Linked DNA regions of Homo sapiens: regions 1, 3, 4, 5, 6 and 7 are each linked to region 2. Evidence: promoter capture Hi-C in 16 types of primary human blood cells and fetal thymus (Javierre and others, 2016). All regions are on one chromosome and are shown on one strand. Each heading gives the region's core, a stretch centred on a gene start or on the middle of the fragment in contact. The rest is flanking DNA. Distances are from core to core; before and after follow the strand shown. Region 1 has its middle 6.2 kb from the start of LINC01526. Region 2 holds the start of BCKDHB (branched chain keto acid dehydrogenase E1 subunit beta). Region 3 overlaps LINC02542 (long intergenic non-protein coding RNA 2542). Region 4 overlaps LINC02542 (long intergenic non-protein coding RNA 2542). Region 5 overlaps LINC02542 (long intergenic non-protein coding RNA 2542). Region 6 overlaps LINC02542 (long intergenic non-protein coding RNA 2542). Region 7 has its middle 27 kb from the start of TENT5A.

Region 1 (3,125 bases), core at 344-2,843, 1.7 Mb before region 2:
AAGCCTATCCTGGACAATCACCTGGACTAGCAGTATACACTATGGGAGGCAGAAATAAGATTTTATTAAGTTAAAATTGTGATTTTGGGGGTCGTTTAATATTACAGCACTGTCATTCTTATCCAGGCTAATATGAGGAAGGTAACTGCTCCTTTTGTATAGTATTCATTATTTTGCAACATAAAGTCTACAGAGCAAGCTTGTGATAACCTACAGAAGAATGTGAGAATTAGGGCCCACACCCACTGAGTTTTAATGAAAACACAGTTTTCATCTCCATTTTGACACTTAGGTATGTGCAAATGTGCCTAGAATAGAACTGGGATTTCCCCTTTTCTAGATCAATAAAACCCTAATTAGTTGACTTTTCTGGTCTACTTCAAAACATTGTTTTTGTGTCATATCATTTGTTTATTCTTGATCTTCATTTGCTTTTCCTTTGCCCAAATACTGTGGCAGAGGAAGCTTGCCATATGTTTTATGAATTAACCAATAAACTCATTTATCAGAATTATTATTTGTTCATTATAGACAATCCTCATGAACCCATTAGGGCAAGACCAAGGGAAAAGTAAGCACAAATCTCAATTACTCTGCCTTGGCCCAAATGCCTTCTGTGTTCAGATAGTTTAGTGTCAACAGGTTATGGGGTGTGTGTGTGTGTGAGTGTTTTCTTTTTAATCAGTTCCTTTCTTTGAAATAGCCGACTTTGCTTTCACACATGATCAAGTTGTGAAGTTTTATTTTCCATGAAAAGAAACTGAATTGAAACTGAAACTTCTCTACCAGTTATTCAAATGGATTATTTTATGCCTCATTAGCATCAATTATCTCTAGAAGGAAGTATGGTAGGACTTTAAATGGGTTACTGCACTACAGCTAACAGCTGGCAACAAACTATGCTTCAAGCAAACAAATGAAAATAGCAAAGAGACTTTAACCTGGGAGCTTACAGAAAGAGACTGATGAAGGGAGGTTGCAGACGAAAAGTCTTGTGGAGAAGTGGAGGCAGTTCCAGTTCTCCACGGGGTCTAAGATGTACTCTTGATAGAAGTGCTTGGCACCTGGTAACGAGTTTTGTCCATTGATGCTGATAAGAAATGCTAATATATTTTATAGAAGGCTTAGCAAAGGATGCCTCATAAAAGGGAAAAGTGTCATTCTATAAAAAGTCAGTCTCTTTTTGTTTCAGACTATTTTCTGCTGCTGTAACAGAATACTACAGACTGGGCAGTTTATAAAGAAAATATATTATTTGACTAATTGTTCTGGAAGCTGGAAAGTCCATGATAATGGTGCCGGACATCTGGCAAGGGTTATCCCATGGTGCAAAGTGAAAGGAAGAACAAGCCAGCAAGCGAGACTCAGGGAGAGTAGGGGCTGAACCCTCATGATAACAAACCCATTTCTGTGATTAATCCATTCATGAGGGCAGAGTCTTTAAGACTGTATCACCTTTAAAAGATCCCACCTCTTAATACTGCCACAATGACAATTAAATTTCAGCATGAGTTTTGGAGGACACATTCAAGGCAGTGTATTTTTTAAAAACTTGAACAGTGTTTTTTTTTTTTTTTTGAGACAGTGTTTTGCACTGTCACCCAGGTTGGAGTGCAAAGGTGTGATCTCAACTCTTTACAACTTCTGCCTCCTAGGCTCAAGACATCCTCCCACCTCAGCCTCTCAAGTAGCTGGGACTACAGATGTGCACCACCATGCTGCCCACTAATTTTCGTATTTTTTTTTTTTTTTTTTTGTATAGACGGGGTTTCACCATGTTGCCCAGGCTGGTCTCAAGCTCCTGGACTCAAGAGATCTACCTTCCCAAAGGGCTGAGATTACAGGTGTGACCCAACGCGCCCAACCCAGTGTTTTTTTGTTTTGTTTTTTTTTTTTTTCCTCATGTGCTTGACGCTGCCAGTTGCTAGGGATGTAGGGACAAATAAGCACATAGGTGAAAGGTGTGTGTTGTAACTTCACAAAGTACTCTAATGTACACTCTATCAACTGGGTGTCAGTCAGGAAGCAGTTCGCATGCTCACATAGAGTAGAGTTCAATAAAGAAACTATTTATAAGGGAGTCACCACAGTGAAGCAAAACCAAGATAATATAATATCCCAGAGCTAGTAATAGCAGGACATCACTACCAAGAGGAGGGACTGGTTACTCGTCCCCAGACAATATATACAGTGCGTAGGGCATCCTGTGGAGAAAGTCATTTGACAGGAACCACGGACCTTCCCAGGGAGGGAGCACATCTCCTGCTAGTGCCTCCATTTGCGCAAACAGAAGCCCAAGGATGAAGGAGCGTTGATGGAGGCCCTCCAACTGAGCTTCATGGGGCCCGAGTTGGGGGAAGAAGGCTGGGGCAGAGTGGATATAGAGGGACAAACAGAGGCTGTCCAGGACATGGACATTAGCTCATGGGTATTTACAGTGACCCCATAATAATAATTGTAATAATTGACCTGAATCGAGGGCTTCCTATGTGCCAGGCAGTGTATCAGGGTTTTACATCTCATCAAATCTGTACAGCAACCTTATGAAGTGGGCCTCATTATTCATACTTTCATCAAGGAAGACTTCAAGGCTTGGAGACATGAATTTGCCCTTTCACCCAGCTAAAAGTAGCAGAGCTGTGATATGACCCAAGGAGTCTATTGCTAGAGCCAGGATGCCTGGCTGCCTGCTCATTTTTCACTTAGAGAAACAGAAGCTTATACAGTTTAAGGGACTGATTCAAGTTAACATGGCTGTGAAATGATGATCCTGTGATAAGTTCAGTTTTTCCTCTAAGGCTTACACTTGTCCCATGACATCTTGCAGTTGTGAGGGAGGTGGGTGAGATGGGATCATGTGAACACAAGGCAATTTGAGCTGAACAGAGGAGACTTGAGTTTGCACTGTTTTCTCTGTCTGAATTTGTCTGTTTTCTTCAGGCTAAGGGAGTAGCGTGAGTGAAATCAGGAAGGTGAAAAGTGTGGTTATATCCGGCTAGAGTCAGAAGAGAAGAGGGTGGTAGAAAGGCTGCTAGGCACAGCCTTTAAGAGATCAAGGGAGTAAAAGATGGCACAGAAGCCAGCTGCCTAAAAGGGGAAGAATTCAATGAAAGGAGAACCAGGAG
Region 2 (2,879 bases), core at 97-2,596:
ACCCTGGTAAGCACTCAATAACTGTTCATTCTTATCCACAAGACACACTTCCAAAAATGTCAGCTCTAGCATGCACATGAGAAGTTATTAGACAAGGAAGCAATACATGTTTCCCTACAGTTTCCTGATATTCTGAAGAGAGACACTGGATCTGATATTCTGATGAGAGACATTACATGAAACTTGCAGAAATGGTAAAAATCATGCAACAGTCATACTATGAGGAGTTTGCTACATGCCCTTCCTATGGCTTCCTCCTCTCATCCCCTTCACCTCCTTGGCTAAGTGGCAGCATAGCCCAGGACAAGCTCAGTACTAAGCTCAAGTAGAAAGTCTGAATTCTTTCACATCTCTAGGAAGGACCTGTTCTGTGACCTTGGGAAAATCAGTTCAATTACTCAGAATTCTGTAGGTAAGAAGAAACCAAGGGACATATATACATATATGCATATATATATGCATATATATGTGTGCATATATATATATGCATATATATATATATGCGCACATATATATGCATATATATGCGCGTATATATATCCACACATATATATATGTGTGTGGATATATACACACACACACACACACACACATACACACAATTTCTGTATGTAAGAAGAAACCAAGGGACTGAGTAACTGAATTGATTTTATATACATATATATATTTTATATATAATATATATAATATACATTTAAAATATATATATATAAACATATATATATATCTTTTAAATGCCTCTACCTAAGCTAGTGGCCCAGTCCTGGCCAGGCTGGAACAACACCTAAGGCCTGGGTTGAGAAAGCAAGGACGGAGGACAGAGAAAAGGGAGGCGTTCCCTGGGCACCACCCCTCCACCCTCAGGCTCTTCCAGGTGGCAGTATGCCCTCTCACCCATCTCAAAGTTGCGGGGGAGGGGGGACTGCGTCTCGAGGGCTGAACAGTCACAAAAATAGAGCAAGAAGTGAACCACAGTTAGACCCTGAGGCAAGGAGGTTCCAGAGAGTCAGGAAGTTAATAAGCTGGGATGCAAGGATTGCAGCCTGCCGGCCCCTGCCCCTCGCGGGCGCCTGCGAGCCTGGGAGTCCGGGCTGCAGCGGGACCGAGTGGGCAGTCCCAGGGCTCACCGTACTCCCGGGGCTCCGGATCTGGCTGGAAAGTAAAATGAGCCACCTGCCGCCTCTGGGCCGCATCCTCGACAGTCGCGGCGGGGTGCAAAAAGCCCCGCGCCAGCCCCGCGCCAGGAAGCCGACGCCAGTGCCCCTCAGCCCCTGCCGCCCTGAGCCTGAGTAGCCAGCCGGCAGCCGCCGCTACAACCGCCATCCCCGCTCACCACCGGGATTCTCAGGCTATGCAGCCGCACGCCGCCTGCGGGGAGGGCGGAGCACCCGAGGAGGCTTCCACATTGGTCGGGCCAGAGGGGCGGTCCCATGAAACAGACCAATCGGAACTGGAAATTTAGGGGCGGGGAAGGCGACGTGACGAGCTGGTCGGCTTCTGCTCCTTGTGCGCATGCGGAAGAGGGGAAGTGTGGGCTAGAGGTGGCGCCAATGAAATAGTTTCTGGGGTGGAGCCTCCCCGAGGTCGGCCGTGCGGTCCTCGGGTGAGGACCCGAGTTTGCAAAGTTCCACACAGTGCCTGGAGGCGATCTTTTCCGGTGTCATTTACAGTGCCATTTCCAATGGTTTAACATCCATACTTTTTTTTAAATGTAACCCTTTTTTATCCTGTCCTGTCTCTATTATTGTGTGAGAGGTGAAGAGAGCTACTGATTGGCATTGGTTATTGTTTTGACTTTCGAAAAACTGCTGTAGTCACTGCTCAAAGCTTTCACTCCTTATTCACACCCTCCTTAAAATGCTTAATAAGCATATATAGATTTTTATTGATTTCGTTTTTCCACATTTAAATGAGAGATGAAAGAGGTAAACTTAGATTTCATCCTGCAAATCCACTGAATAGGAATTCAGATACATTTTGCCCAGAAGTAGCAAAAATTACCTGATTGGCTTAGTCTAAGTAGCTTAGAAACCTGGAGAATTTGAGTCACTAATTTTCATTTATAGTAATCAACTATGTAAATTTGTTTTAATCTAAGTGTTTACCAGGATACATTCTCTGTCCATGAATTTACTAAAAAAAAAAAAAAGCACATAAAACATGAAATATCATAAAATCAAATATGACAAGAGACAACAGAGACAGTGTGTCCATCAGATGAAAATGGGAGGGTGGGGAAGGATGGTCCCAAAACAGAATTTGAAGAAGAAAGTGGGAGTGGAGGAAAAGAACATTCCTCTTCCATTATGCCTTGCCTCTTAACCCATCTTTGGTTTTGCACAGGGGCAAGGGAGGAGAGGGTAGAAATGGGGCAAAAGGAGAGGCAGAGAAATGTGTTTTCTGACTGAGATTAAGAAACAGCAATTGAAAACTGCCAAAGGGAGAACCAGAATTATGTCTCCATTTTTCCTACCCCCACACTAAGTCCAAAAATTCAACATTGGGGAAATTTTTTATCTTGGCTTTTGTTAGTGTTCATTTCTGCTGTTTTAATAGTGTGGGGTAGAGTGTTTTGCATGTGCATGAAGGGTATTTTTGTTTTAATGAAGGAAGGGGTAACAAAATGAAATTACATTTACATAGTCAAATTTGGGTTTAAACTAAGGAGAGTAAAGAACAAGGATAAAAATGAATAGAGCTTTTTTTCTATTTGTTGATAGTTTAGGGAGCTGGGGGTACTGAGATTATTTAGGTCGGGGAGAAAAAGAGAAAAATAATAACTGATGAGAATTTTATTGAACCTCTGCTACGTACAACCCAATGACAAGCCACCATTGAGACAAATAAGATCAAGGCATAGTTTTACTTCTAAAATGTCC
Region 3 (3,110 bases), core at 543-3,042, 1.9 Mb before region 2:
GTTGATGGAGAATGCGCTCTTCTGAGTTGGGGGATAGGTAATGGTGTGTTTTGGTGTCCTTTTTTTGCCTACTTCCTGGTTGGCAGGTTCATTCTGTTTAATGAAGTAAAACATGGGTGTACAAACGCTTGTTTCTGAAATGAGCTCCATTGTCTTTGTACTTAGTAAAAATTTCTCATATACGAAAGCAATAGGTTAACTATCAATCTTAGATTTTATCTTATATATGTTTTCTACTTTATATGTTTTAATGTATGTTAGGTGATGAAATTAAAGTTATAGGATTTTAGAGTAAATTTCACAGATTGACTGTTCTTAAATTTGAGAAGATAAAGGAGTTTGCTTTTTTTTTTTTTGTCAGGCAGGAAGTTATACTTAACAATCTCTTTTAGGATTAGTTGCTTAAACTGGGTTGGGAATACTTACACATATTGGTCAGATGCTAAATAAATCTATAACAAAATATCTTTTCTTGGGGATATTTTTATTTTTATAAAATTGATCACATATTACAGTCGTAGATTTTTCTGTCTCAACTCTGAGGTTTTTTGGAATCTACAAAATATGAAGTACTCATTCTATACTGTGAAGCAATCAAAATGCTAGCGATCTCCTTAATACTTTTGTTTACTCGAATTACCCAACATTTTTTTTTAGTGCTTAAGATCACCAGATTATCATAATTCTCCTAGTAGTCTTTGGAATACTTGAAATAATGAGGGGATTTCTACTGTTATATATTTATTTATACATAAGCCATATAGTTTTATAATCCAGCAAATAACAACTGAGTATGTGGAAAGTTTTCTGTTTGGACTTTCTTGGTGCTTGGCATGTTTGTTACACTGACACTCAGGTGAGATATCCCAAAGATTGTCTAGTTTTCAATGGATATGTATGTTTTTATCATTTCTTTAAAAAAGTCTTACCATGGGCAACAATTTGCCAAAATATTTTTACTGATTGTTGTCACTTGTTATTGAGCCTTCTTTTCAGAGCTATCTTTTTGAAACAGATATGAACTTTATGAGTCATTGAGTGATTTAAGTTAAAATGAATTTGATAGCTTTGGGGGAGTTTGCTCAAGGGAAAAAAGGAGACTGTGTTTTTGTCTACACGTATTGTCAAATCAAGACATAGGAGAGCCAACTTTATTCTCCCAGAAGAGATATGGTCAAGATTGGTTTCAGCCTATTTTCTATCTTATATATATATTTAAAAGAATTTGTTTTTCCCACAGATGATTTTGAATAAAAAGTTGTCAATTATTTTCATCATTATTAATCTCAAGTCATAGTAGTAGAAATTGTCATTCCACCCTAGTCGGCTTAGGCCTATAATATTGCTTGCTCTAATAAGTATGTGGCAACACATTTCCAGCAGTGTCAATGAAGTTCATATTAAGTTTTAGGAAATCATTTCACATTTTAGTATTTCCAGGTGAAGATATTGCGGTGAACTGAGTTTACACATTTAATAATATTAACCCCTTAAAAATGTATGTGAAATTACATTTCAATTTATCACAGAGATTGCATTTAATATGGTGAAGTTATGAAGATGAATTAGCTTAAGAAACTGTGCTCCATTTTTTATCCACTTTGCAGAGAAAGACCTGGAAAGAATATGTGCAGAATAATCTAATAAATTTAGATTTAAACTTGGATGAACAGTCCAAGATAAAGTATATTACCTACCAGCATTGTGCTATTGCCTAATGAATATTTGGAGGATATAATGTTCGGTTATTTATTACACTGATTTCACACACAAAAGTGTATCTTGTCAATCAATATATAGAAATTAAGACTCATCATACTACTGTCTTCTGGAAACTGGAAAAGTACCAAAGAAATATGATCTTCTTATATCAATTCAAGAGTTTGAAGACTCCCTTTGTGATGTTGGCTGAACTTTGATGTGTATTAAATTATTATTTTTTCTGTTAGCTTGGATTTTAAAGGGGCCTGACCGTTTGGAAATGGCAAAATTGTTTTCATGAATACTTCAGAGATTTAAATATTTTCATTTACTTTCTGTATTAGTTCATTTTCACGCTGCTGATAAAGACATACCTGAGACTGGGCAATTTACAAAAGAAAGACATTTAATGGACTTTCAGAAGCTGGGGAGGTTTCACAATCATGGTGGAAGGTGAAAGGCATGTCTCACATGGCGACAGACAAGATAAGAGATCTTGTGCAGGAAAACTCCCCCTTATACATCATTGAATCCTGTGAGACTCATTCACCACCACAAGAACAGCACAGGAAAGACCTGCCCCATGATTCAACTACCCTCCATCGGGTCCCTCCCACAACACATGGGAATTCAAGATGAGATTTGGGTGGAGGCACAGCCAAATCACATCACTCTCCATATTGCTGTATTCTGAGAAACAATATTTAGTCGCTGAAAGATTTGATTAAAACACAATTTGGGTCAAATAATATCCATTTATTTTCGTGGGGGATTTGGATTATAAAGTTCCACAGTTGTTGGGTTATTGATTGTGTCACTATTCCTGACACTTGCTAAGCTCAGTTGGGATGGGTTGAGATAAAGCATAATAGTACCGTTATTTTATTAAGGGAGTTAAGGGGCTTTAGATTTCATATTTATTAAGGGAACTAAGTAGAATCTAAGGAATAGGAGGATTTAGAAAGAAGTTAGCTGAGGCATTGATTATGATCTATCCTTGGGGAGAGTGGTGTTTGATGAAAGTCTCTTTACTGGGTATATCCCCAGAAGAATATAAGCCATTCTATTATAAAGATATATGCACATGTATGTTCATTGCAGCGTTATTCACAATAGCGAGGGTATGGAATCAACCTAAATGCCCATCAATGATAGACTGGGTAAAGAAAATGTGGTGCATATATACCATGGAATACTATGCAGCCATAAAAAGGAACAAGATCATGCCCTTTGCAAGGACATGGATAGACTTAGAAGCCATGCTCCTCAGTAAACTGACACAGGAACAGAAAACCAAACACTGCATGTTCTCACTTATAAGTGGGAGCTGAATGATGAGAACACATTAACATATGGAAGTGGGGAAAATACACACTGGGGCCCATCAGAGGTAGGGTTGCGGGAGGGAG
Region 4 (3,017 bases), core at 440-2,939, 1.9 Mb before region 2:
TGGACAGGATGTCATCCTGAATGATGGTAGGAAGTTGCATGGAGAGAAAGACTACAGTTATGTGCAGAAGTGTTTAGTGAACATGAGAAAATTGTCCATGGAATCAGCAGACACTCTGGGTACAAGGGAGGGTGGAATGTGGTATGTCTGGATAACTTGAACCTTCAAGGATGGAAGGATTTTGCATGAGGATTGGTGGTGATGAGGACTGGTTTGAAGCACTGCTAGGTGAAGACGATCTGAACTCTGCTTCCTTATTCTGAGATACCAAGGGTTGTTGACAGCCACATTCTTCACTTGGTGAGACTGCTGGAGAAGCAGTGTCCTCAGATAGAGAAAAGCTTTAATTAAGGCAAGAAGGTGGAGTGAGTTTAGTGGCAAGGCTAGGGATTGAGGGCTCCAGGAAGCATAATGAAAGTACTGGGAATGGGAAGATGGTTAGAAGTTGGGGTCAGGAGAAGGAAGTCACAGAACACTGTCATAATGCACACTTCTAATTTCGTTGCCTAGAATGGGAATCATGACAGGCTAGTTCATGTTCTACAACCACACATAGCTAGTTAAAGAAGCAAAGGCAAACTAAGACCTCTAAGATTTAATAGTGGCAGTGTTTAGTCATACTATACTGACATTCATCTTTTTAATGGTAAGTTTAATGCAAAATAAAATTTTATTTTCTCAATAAAAACACATTTAAAGGAAGCAAATACTATAAAACACAATTTGAACATTAAAATGGAGCTCAATGTAAAACCTAAGCCAATAATAGTTTCTAAAGTATCATCTATAGGCATATATGCATTTATTTCAAAATAATCATGGCCAATGAAATTAAATGGACAGTGGCTTGAGAAAATTGATTTTTAGAAAATGAGTCATAAAGTTGGAACTCAATCTTATAGTAACACAGTGACCCAGAACTCCTAGTAATCTATAAACCTATAACTAGGAAACACAGAAATAAATGTCTCTTAGGAAATGTAGCTATAGAGTTCTTAAAACATGGAAAAACTAATGAAGCCACTGGGAGAAATTACTGAGGCAAAATCAACATTTAAACAATTTGTTATATTACAGAGGTCATATTGGAAGAAAAGAGACCATATTCTGATATATATATACACACACACACACACACACACACACTGCAATATATGCATACATATATGTATACAAGTATATATATATACACACACATATATAAATCCTACATATAAAATAATTACATATATATGTGTGTGTGTATATATATACACATATACAATTTTGGCAGAAGTACATGGCAGTGGCAGCCAAAAATCTTCTCACAGATTAGTAAAGAGACAATAATTTCCTAAGACAGAAGGATTTATTTAAAAGCTCTTTATAAACATTTACCTTTAGTAAAGTCTCCACATTATAGAAATAACAAATGATCGGCATGTTAAAATCTAAAGCTTCTTTTAAATGCAGCAGGACTATGTGGGAACTTTCTCCTCTTTAAAAGTCATTTTCTTGAAGGGATAAACGTCACTATATCCTATGAACCTTATAAAATGTTTGACATTCATATGCACATATAAAGATACAAAAGGTCCTTTAATTCTGAACATTTTTTTTTGCAGTGTAGCATTAATGGATTCTCTTAATTACATTATTAGTATATGCCCTCTATTTTCCACTTCATTCATTCAACAAATGGTTTTGGGGTAGCTACTCTGCCCCAAACACTGTTCTGTGAAATAGGTGGGAACATAGTTTTGAATGATGTTAGTATAAAATATGATACAAGGTTTTTGTGGAAGACCTCTCTTCTGAGTTCCAGTTTTCTTCATAGTCATGCCACTTGGAGGATCCCCAGGCTCCTCAAACTCACTCTTATCTTGTAAGTGAAATCAGTGTTCATTCTACCAGGGAAGTGTGATTGTTTCCTTGTGTTCCTCTCTCACCTGTTAGAAGCTTTCCAAAATGTAAACCTGGCCACAATGCATCCCTGTTGCAACACTCCATGGCTCTCGTGCCTAAGGCAATATTTCAAAAAATATATGTGAATGCACACACACACACAAAAGAGTAAGCTTGGAGGAAAGAGATCATAAGCTAAAATGGTGACCACAACCGTGGCATTTTTCCAAAATTTCATGATTTACCTTTATAATTTATAAAGTTTTGCATATTAATCTACAGTGTATCTTTATTTCTTTTTCCTATGTTTGAAAATTCTCACTGTTTAACATCTTCTCACCTATCTGAGTAAAATTTTCCCTCATAGGTCTTTCAGTACCATTGATTTACTGGGCAAATGGCTACATATATTCTCTGGCTTTATGTATTTCTGACTCATATGCTATAGTTGGAGAAATAGAGACCTAAGGGATATAGCTCAGATCTTGATGCACGTCAGATCTTGATGCACAGCATTCATGAGGAGGCAGTGTAGCCAAGCACTTAGGAACCTGGGCTGTGGAATTTAATTCCTTATTTGAATCCTGACTCTGTTGTTTGCTAGTTGTTTGATCTTGGGCAAGTTATTTAACTTCTTTGGTTTTATTAAATAAGCCTTGTAATAGCATCAACTTTAGGGTTATTATTGAGACTATGAAATGATATAAATAAAGGGTTCATCCTAGTGCCTGGCCATAATAAGTGTTCAGGAGTGTTTATTCATCTCTTGTTAGACCCCCAGGAAATAACTTGCAATGTCTTTCACATGCCATAATATTTCATGTAGATCTGCCTTTGGTCTAGAATATTCCACTCCCATAATATTGTATATTGTATCACCAGGGAAGGAATAGAAGAAAAACAAGTTTCTGTAACTTCCCTAAAGGAAGAAAACCAACCAAACAAAAAAACCAATAACCCTGATATGACAGGTATAATGTACATAAAATTCATTATGAGGATAGTAAAAGGTAAGTCATCTCTCTTTTTTTAATGTAATAATGTAAACCTCACCTAGTCTTCATCAGAATAGAAAATAAAACTATGAGCATTCTATCTTGGGAGAGGTTGACTGGGTTTCACCAGGATCGCAG
Region 5 (2,883 bases), core at 146-2,645, 1.9 Mb before region 2:
AAACATTAAACTGAAATTGCTATGTTCCATCTCTTCAATCAAATGTGAATTTTCTATTAAAAAGAAAAATTATACTTTTAGAAGGTTGAGTAGGATGGCACTTTTAAAAGCCTTCCAACTGCATAAATTTAGAACAATTCAAGGAAATTCTCTAACTCTGAGCCCACATCTTCTTCATTTATTGTCAATTGGAGCACTTTCATTCATTTTAAGTTTTCCTGCCTCAGCTCTGTGATCTCTAGAAATGAATGTTAGAGATGAGGACTTAGCCAGATCAGCACTCAGATGGACAGTGGAGCAGAGGTTGTCTCTATAGTCTTAGCGGAATATAACTCACTAATGGGGACCCAGGTGAATACAAATTGTAACTGCTGAGGGAGGAGAAGGAGATTGACAGCAACCAAAACAAACAAACAACAACAACAACAACAACAAAAAACCCCAGTCGTCTTGATTCAAGAATGTTCAGCTAACTATCAATGCTTAATTATCATTACTAGACTGGTCAAATATAAGAGCTGGAGATGCAGTGTAAACCCAAGGTAAACAGTTCTTTACCAATAATTCACTAAAAATGAGTGTTTGTCAGGCTCCCATCTTTAATCAGCACTAAACAGACACACTCACTGAACGAAAAAGAGGAGAATTGCTGAAGTCATTGCAAGCACTTCTCCAGCATCAGGGGAGCTTAAAGTAAATGAAAATGCCTTCTGCTGCACTGTCCATCTCAACAGCCTCCACCTAACTGAACCCTCTTCTCTAAAATTAGTTTTTAGAGATCACAGAATTCCCAAATATCATTCACCCCCCCAAAGTTTGGGTCTTATATTCTTTTTAATGTGTACTCTGCTCTATCTGGATCAGCCCTAGCTCTATCCCTGTGGCCCTCCCGAAAACCGGGCTCCATTGTTCCCTTTTTGTCTGTTGACTGGAAACTTCAACCAGAGAAGCTCCATCCCACTTTGGTAAACATACAATGTAGAATATCAGCTGACTTCTCCCATTATGAATTCATATCATTGTGCTTCTGTTTTGTTCAAACTTACTGTTCTATTCAAAAACCCAAACCAACAGTTTCAAAATTTCATTTCTGTAGACTCACAGCCTAGGGAACTTACTATTTTCATAGAGAAAAGTGACAGTTTACTGCACATTCACAAATGTTATTTGTTTAGTTATTATTTATTTTAGAATATGTATTTATTTAAATTGTCAAATAAAAATTGTGTAGATTCATCATGTACAACATCACATTTTAAAATATGTATATATTGTGGAGTGAATAACTTAGCTAATTAACATATGCGTCACCTCATTTTTTGTGGTGAGGTAATGCATATGTTAATTAGCTAAATTTACACTTAAAAGATAATCATTTAAAATTTACTCTCTTACCAATTTTAGAGAATGTAATACATTGTTATTAACTATAGTCATCATAGTTCTTATTTCTTGACTTGCTAAATTGTACCAGAGGTTTCCTTTGCATTTGTATTTGTGCCAATTTGTAGTTGTTTCCTAATAGTTTTAGTCAAAGAGGTATATTTCCTATTCTAGAATATTAATTTGTAACACTTGCACTAAGGTTCTATTCTCTTTCACACACGTACACATATACAAACCCTTCTGACATCTCTAGTCCTGTTAAACTTCACTCACTCACACCTTCAAACATCACATTGACTACAGCTTCTGAGCCCTGAATCTGGACATGTTGTGTGACAAATGATTTGTCATTTCCAGAGTAGAAGATGAATCTATCTTCTATCCATTCATCTTGATTTTTATCTGTAGTCATACAGAATAACTCTTGCTTTCTGTTTTGCATGGTTCTCCTGTATAACTGTGGTGATCAAACCTCTTAGTTCTTTTCTTTCCTATTGCAAACTTTCCCTGTTCAGTTAACATGTTTCATTTAATATAGTTTTCAAACATTTCAGACTTTTCAATCTCTTTATAATGTCGTGATAAGAAATTGTGACAATACTAAAGATGTAGTCTGTTTAGTGTTAGGTACTATAGACCTACTCCTTTCTTTTGTGTACACCATATTTTATCAATAGAACCAAGATAACATTCACATTTTGACCAGCTTATAAAACATATCTTGGCTTATATTGTACCTGCTTCAATTAAAACCTCAATGTCCTTTTTGTTCAAGTCTCTTGTTATGTGACTGTATGTTACTTTACAGTAATATAATTTGTAACTCGAGAGTTCCCCTCAATTCTGTAGTTTTGGGTCATTCAGCAGGCAGCAAACATTTACTGAGCCCCTGCTGCATACATGGCACCATGCTTAATGCTAAGGGATACAGTGGAGGAGCTCACAATCTCATGAAGGAGAGAGACTAACACGTATTTTTAGTTCAGAGTAAGAAATGCAGCAGGAAAGATATCTGTAAGATAGACTTCTACCCAATTAAAGAGGAGCAAGTAGTTATCAATGTGCTAAGAACTTTAAGTAGAAATGTTCAGTCATTGGAGCTGGGAGAGATTTAGCCTAAATTTAAAGATGGGAGCATGGTAGACTTGTCATTTTGTACCCACTTATTCACTGTTTCTTCCTTTGCCTTTGAGACACAAGCCTTTCCCTCTTTAATACAGCCAGATTTGGATTAGCAATTGACATATGCTCCTTCTGTCTCCCTTACCCATGGGATTATGATATGTCCCAGTGAGACCAATATGATATTCAGTTTCTGGAATTTCAGTTTGACCAAGGAGCTGAAATAATTTTCAGCCAATTTATTGAAGTTGCTGGGTCCTGATGAGACTTCTTTCGGTTCCTACAAGCTTGGTGCTGAACTCCATCTAGGTCTGTTTTTAAGCCCAAGTCTTTAGTTTCCCCTTCAATTATGTGAGTTACCTCATATCCTTACCA
Region 6 (2,951 bases), core at 293-2,792, 1.9 Mb before region 2:
CAAAATGCAATTTATCAAACTAACATGAGAAGAAATGGAAAATATAAATAGTTCTATAAAATAAATTGAATTTGTTACCAAAAACCTCACAAAGAATCTATACATCCAGATAGTTTCACTGGCAAAATCTATTAACAACTTAAGAAATAAATATTGCCAACTTTTCACAAATTCTTTTGGAAAATAGAGCTGAAAGGAATACTTTCTATATTATTCTATGAGGCCAATATTACCCTGATAATGTAGCCAGACAAAAACATTGCACACAAAGAAAATTATAGTCAAATATCTTCCCTGCACACAGACATAGAAATCCTTCACAAAATAATAGGAAATACGATTCAGCAGTATGTTTGTTGTTGTGTGTGTGTGTGTGTGTGTGTATGTTTGTGTGTGTGTCTGTGTGTATGACTATATCATGATCAGGTGTTTGTTTTCAAGGAATAAAAGGGTTTGTTTAAAATTTTAAAGTCAGTCAACATAGTTCACCATTAAGAAAAGGAGAAAAATCATATATTCATTTCAATAGGTGCAGACAAAACACTTCACAATATTCAACATCCATTTATGATTAAAAGCTTTCAGCAAGTTAAAGATAGAAATTTTCTCAATCTCATAAAGAGGACTCACTAAAAATCAACAGCTTATATTTAGTTGTGAAATTGAATGCTTTCCTTTTAAGATTGGAAACAAGAGTGTTTGTTTTTACCATTCCATTTGTACTTGAGGCACTAGTCAGTGCAAAAAGACAAGAAAAAGTCACAAAGATCAGATAGGGAGAAGTTATTTTTCTTCTATTTATATTCACAGGAGAAATCATTGTTTACTTAGAAAATCCTAAAGAATCTACAGAAGAACCACTGGAACTGAGAAGTGAATTTAGGAAGGACTCAGTATACAAGATCAATATTAAAAGATTATTTCTATATGTTAGTCACAAACAATTAAAAAACAAAACAAGAAAACATTTTTATCCTTAAAGCACTCAAAACATAACATTCTCAAGAATAATTTAAACAAAATGTATACAAGACCTCAACATGGAAAACTACATTGTTGAAAGAAATTAAAGAAGACTTAATAAGAGATATAGAACATTTATGGATTGAAAATTCACTATTATTGAGATATTAATTCTCCACAAATTTAAATATAGATTGAATCCAATTTCAACCAAAATGTTGGTTCTACATGTTTAAAATGTAGACATTAAAAAAAACTGATTCCAAATTTATATGGGAAATAAGAGGCTCTAGAATAGCCAAAACAATCTTGTAAAAGAACAATGTTAGAGGCTTCATTGTACCTAATTTCAAAAGACAGTCAGCTCATATCTGTGGGTTTTGCATCTGTAGGTTCAACCAACACAGGAAACATTTGAAAAAAACAATAAAAATAACAATACCACAATAAAGATAATGCAAATTTAAAAACAATACAGTATATCAACTATTTACATAGCATTTACATTGTATTATTATAAGTAATCTAGAGATGATTTAAAGTATATGAGAAGTATATGAGAGGATGTGTGTAGGTTATATGCAAATACTATGTTATTTTATGTAAAAGACTTGAGCATCTGCAGATTTTGGTATCTACAGGGTGTCCTGGAATTCCTCCCCTGCAGATCAAGGAATGACTACACTATTAGGCTGTATTGCTTAAGACATCTTGAAATTGGTATCAACATAGACAGAGAGCTAGAACAGAATAGAGAGTGCAAAAGTAGACCTATATATACATGGTAAACTGATTTTTTCCAAAGGGATCAAGGCCATTTAAAGGGAAAAGAAAAGTCTTTTCAACAAATGGTACTAGACTGTTTAATTTTATGAAAAAAAGGGTATTAACACTACCTCATGCATACTCAAAAATTAATTTGAGATAAATTATAGATCTAAACAAAAAAGTTAAAATTAAAAAGTTTCTAAAACACATAAGAGAATATCTTTGCAAATTTGGAGTAAAGATTTCTTAAATAGTATAGAAAAAGCACTAATTATAAAAGAAATTAAAAAATCAACTTCATAAATATTAACTTTTTAATATCTAAAGACGCCATTAAGAAATAAAAAGGCAGGCTGCGCACAGTGGCTCACGCCTGTAATCCCAGCACTTTGGGAGGCTGAGGCTGGTGGATCACTTGAGGCCAGGAGTTTGAGACGAGCCTGGCCAACACAGTGAAACCCTGGCTCTACTAAAAATACAAAAATTAGCTGGGCATGGTGGCACATGCCTGTAATCCCAACTACTTGGGAGGCTGAGGTGGAGGGATTACCTGAGCCCAGGAGGTGGAGGTTGCAGTGAGCCGAGATTGTGCCACTGCACACCAGCCTGGGTGACAGAGACTCCATCTCAAAAAATAGAAATAAATAAAAATAAAAAGAAAATCCATAGATTTGGAAAGTATATTTTCAATACATATATTTGAAATTTGTAAATATAAAAACTCCTACAAATCAATAACAAAAAGTCAACCCATTCAAAAATGAACAAAGCTTGAACCAACATTTCAATGCAAATAACCATTATGCAGAAGGATAGGTGCTCAACATTGTCTTGGGGGAAGTGAATTTTACCCACAAAAGGATACCATAGAAAATATTCCACACCAACTAGAATAATCGAAATTGAAAAGACTGACTGCACTAAATGTTGGCCATGGTATGAAACATTATGGACTATCATACATTCCTGATAAGAGTATAAAATGGTATGACCACTTCAGAAAACTGCTATTTTTAAAATAAATTAAACATATGCCTATGCTATGACCCAGCAATACCACTCTTAGGTATTTAACCAGGAGAAATGAAAACATATGTTCACAAAATATTGGAAACAAATGCCCAAAAATAGGTAGGTAGTTAAATAAATATGGTACTGATGAGCTACCCCAAAACATTGGGCATTTGAGAAAGAGCAGAAGTAGGAAGGTCATTTTTCCT
Region 7 (3,083 bases), core at 550-3,049, 1.7 Mb before region 2:
CAGATGATTTGCACTTTGATATTAATTTGGTAATAATTATTAATTCATTTATAATGAATTTAATTAGTTATCAATCATTGAATAACCATAATTTAATTCTAATTTGCAATTTAATATTAAATAATCCTCAGAGTGTCAGTGCCTGAGTCCATTACATTCCCCTAGGTTATAAGTGGAAAGTGCTGTCCTGCAGCACCTTTTGATATGCCTCATCGAAAGATGATTTGATGAGCAGTTAATTAAACTGAGCAATAGAAGAGGAGAGATTACAAAATAACTACAACAATATATAAAACCAAAAGTAGAAGCAAACAAGCCAGCATTATTTGCAAATGTTAACAGAATTCTGCACTGCCTTCTAATTCCAACTGGCATTTTATTCCTCTTCATACAGCAACTATTGAATGGTTTCCCTATTCCTTCAGAATGGTGGCTAGATTCACATGCTTGAGAAGCACACAGATGTGGACTGGATTTTATGGCACACACAGAGGAAGTTCAGCTCTTCTAACATTTGCTTTCTAAATAACGAAGGCTCTTGAAAGAAATCATAAAACAGAAAATAAGTTCTAATGCTTTTACCAAAGGATGATTTTTTTTTTTTTTTTTTTTTTGAGATGGAGTCTTGCTCTATCACCTAGGCTGGAGTGCAGTGGCACGATCTCGGCTCACTGCAAGCTCCGCCTCCCGGGATCAAGCCATTCTCCTGCCTCAGCCTCCCGAGTAGCTGGGACTACAGGCACCCGCCACCACGCCTGGCTAATTTTTTGTATTTTTAGTAGAGATGGGGTTTCACCATTTTAGCCAGTATGGTCTTGATCTCCTGACTTTGTGATCCGCCTGCCCCGGCCTCCCAAAGTGCTGGTATTACAGGCATGAGCCACCATGCCTGGCCTACCAACTGATTTTTATTTAGAAGAGAGGCTCTTTAGCCTGTGGAACTTTTTGCTTTTATTCCTTGTTTTTATGTAAATAAGACTAATAGGTAGCATAGAATACTAATGTTCTCAATGTAGTCTTACACAGAGATGGGTACTACTCAGAGAAGTGACAAGAGTGCTAAATGAAATAACCCAAAAATAATATAAAGCCCTTGGGTTGTCTATTTATTTAAATTAACTAATAAATCTGGTGCATGCAATGCTATTAATGTGAAAGTTAATAACATGGACTGGCTTATACATACATAGGCCATATAAGTTTGCTTATCTGTAAAATGAGTATAAAAACATCGAATAGGATTTTTGGAAAGATTATATAGGATAACTTTAATCTACAGCTTAACAGAGCACACAGTGAGTCCTCAATGTTGTCATTACTATAAGACAGTAAAATAGAGCAAAGGGCTCTGAACTGGAAGATAAGAACCCCAACTTTTAATAATGATTTTCTTACAAATTAACTGGATGACTTTAGTACTTTAGTCATGTCTCCTAATTTCTGTCAGTAAAATCAGAGGGTTTACTACTTGGTTCCTATATTGTGTATCTTAAAAATAATATGATTATGAATAAACAAGACAATTGCCAACTGTGTTTATGTGTGTGTGTGTGTGTGTGTGTGTGTGTGTGCTATGCTGTATATATTTAAACTAAGGGCTGCTGGTTACCAAAAGAAGACTTTTAAATTGAATAAAATAATCCTGGGATAATGATTTCATTTTGTTGATTAGTCAATATCTAGAAACTAAGGACTAAGCAAGTGGTGAAGAGGCTAAGTGTGTGCTCTGGATCCAGAATGCCTGGGCTTGAATCTAGACCTATTATTTATAGTTTTGTGATCTTGGGAAAGTTAGTTTCGTTGCCTGTATGATTAAGACAATGAGTATCTTACATCAGAGCGTTGTTGGATGGATTCACATGTAAAAAACTCTTAGAACAGTGCCTGACAAGGATAAGAACTCAATAAACATTGGCGATAATTCATCTGCCTCGTTTTTATTCTGCCTCCTATTTTCCTTCTGATAATTTACCATTTAGAAATGAGATAACTTACCATTTATTTATCATTTACTAATGAGATAACAAGTCTTTAAAAGTAATAATACATTTTAAAATACTAAAGCATTTTTTGTTAGAAATCTCCAAAATCAGTTGGGCCTTAGCTCCAAGTCTCATCAAAATCTGGTATAGACTGTATTGATACATCAAATTGAATTTTACTCACTTTTTAATCTCTAATTGAAATGCTTTTTCTTTGTAATTAAAGGAGTTTCTAGCATCATCTGAACAAGTGGAGTAGAAGTGGCTCTAATTGGTGAGTGTTTACTACATGTCAGGCTATTATTCTCCATTTCGCAAATGTTCCCTCACATAATCCTCACAACCTGTGAAGTGAATATCATTCCCATTTTATAAGCAAGAAAGACTCTAGCAAGTAGGAAATGGTGAAGCCAGGATTTTTAACCCAAATTTCAAATCTTTTACTGTTTCCACAACAAATAATGTGAATAGAGGGGAAGGAGAAAGGGTGAAAGAAAGGATGGAAATAAGTAACTTCCAGGGAGCTCTGAATCATGGTCCCTTTACTATCCTTACATTCCTATAAGTCCCCCAAACCCTTAGCATTCATTTTCCTCTGTAGTCTTCATCTCTGCTCTTAGTCCAGTCTTTAGAGGATCAGGCTCCATCCTAAAGGGGAGTGTAGAAGACGTGGCTTTGGGCAGCCTTGTGGACTTTTTATCCTGTGCACTGGGGCATAAAGCACATTTTCACATAATATCTAGGAATTCTCAAAGTTCTTGCCACATATGATGTCCTGGAAAATCTATTTTAAATAGCCTCCTAAATTGTTTTATTTGGGGGCAATGAAGACTGGTGTTTGCAAATAGAAAACAAAACAAACAAACAAACAAAACTCTGTGAGAAACACTTTAGGATCCTGATGTCTGGCTTAATTCAATTATATACTAAATATCAGTTAAAAGCAAGAAGGTGAGTAGTAACAAATTTTATGTGAGATGAAAAGGAAAAATCTGAAAAGCCAGTCCTGAAGTTAAAACTCTCCTTCAAGTAGGGAAGGGTGATTGGCATCTGGTGACAGTAACAGAGCTCACATTGTCTTTGTCCTTACCACATTGCTGC

The links. Contacts are between HindIII fragments. The CHiCAGO score rates a contact against its expected background, and 5 or more counts as called.
Region 1: a contact is called between a fragment that was not itself captured here and the fragment with the promoter of BCKDHB in region 2, in 4 of 17 cell types (total B cells, neutrophils, naive B cells and 1 more). The highest score is 7.0, in total B cells.
Region 3: a fragment that was not itself captured here is called in contact with the fragment with the promoter of BCKDHB in region 2 in 1 of 17 cell types (erythroblasts); the score reaches 5.0 in erythroblasts.
Region 4: a fragment that was not itself captured here is called in contact with the fragment with the promoter of BCKDHB in region 2 in 1 of 17 cell types (monocytes); the score reaches 11.8 in monocytes.
Region 5: a fragment that was not itself captured here is called in contact with the fragment with the promoter of BCKDHB in region 2 in 1 of 17 cell types (neutrophils); the score reaches 5.5 in neutrophils.
Region 6: a contact is called between a fragment that was not itself captured here and the fragment with the promoter of BCKDHB in region 2, in 1 of 17 cell types (neutrophils). The highest score is 6.9, in neutrophils.
Region 7: a fragment that was not itself captured here is called in contact with the fragment with the promoter of BCKDHB in region 2 in 2 of 17 cell types (neutrophils and naive CD4 T cells); the score reaches 11.2 in neutrophils.

Annotation. Positions count from the first base shown.
Region 1 is chr6:81,818,838-81,821,962 of GRCh38, reverse strand. No RefSeq gene overlaps it. Among named protein-coding and RNA genes, the nearest start is that of LINC01526, 6.2 kb to the right of the region's middle. The HindIII fragment of the contact is 2,252 bases long and covers 468-2,719 here.
Region 2 is chr6:80,105,138-80,108,016 of GRCh38, reverse strand. BCKDHB (branched chain keto acid dehydrogenase E1 subunit beta) reads right to left here and starts at 1,346. Exons shown (of 10, transcript NM_183050.4): 1 at 1,128-1,346. The coding sequence starts at 1,323. RefSeq lists enhancers at 1,004-1,083, 1,050-1,550 and silencers at 1,134-1,233, 1,264-1,463. The HindIII fragment of the contact is 20,612 bases long and covers 1-1,829 here.
Region 3 is chr6:81,986,587-81,989,696 of GRCh38, reverse strand. The region is part of intron 3 of LINC02542 (long intergenic non-protein coding RNA 2542); the gene reads left to right. Among named protein-coding and RNA genes, the nearest start is that of LINC02542, 110 kb to the left of the region's middle. RefSeq lists a silencer at 798-998. The HindIII fragment of the contact is 4,309 bases long and covers 1-3,110 here.
Region 4 is chr6:81,966,138-81,969,154 of GRCh38, reverse strand. All of the region lies in intron 3 of LINC02542 (long intergenic non-protein coding RNA 2542), which reads left to right. Among named protein-coding and RNA genes, the nearest start is that of LINC02542, 130 kb to the left of the region's middle. The HindIII fragment of the contact is 502 bases long and covers 1,439-1,940 here.
Region 5 is chr6:82,025,489-82,028,371 of GRCh38, reverse strand. The region is part of intron 3 of LINC02542 (long intergenic non-protein coding RNA 2542); the gene reads left to right. The region is part of intron 2 of LOC107986617 (a long non-coding RNA gene); the gene reads right to left. Among named protein-coding and RNA genes, the nearest start is that of LINC02542, 75 kb to the left of the region's middle. The HindIII fragment of the contact is 2,805 bases long and covers 1-2,797 here.
Region 6 is chr6:82,050,144-82,053,094 of GRCh38, reverse strand. The region is part of intron 3 of LINC02542 (long intergenic non-protein coding RNA 2542); the gene reads left to right. All of the region lies in intron 2 of LOC107986617 (a long non-coding RNA gene), which reads right to left. Among named protein-coding and RNA genes, the nearest start is that of LINC02542, 50 kb to the left of the region's middle. The HindIII fragment of the contact is 1,923 bases long and covers 581-2,503 here.
Region 7 is chr6:81,778,092-81,781,174 of GRCh38, reverse strand. No RefSeq gene overlaps it. Among named protein-coding and RNA genes, the nearest start is that of TENT5A, 27 kb to the right of the region's middle. The HindIII fragment of the contact is 3,644 bases long and covers 1-3,083 here.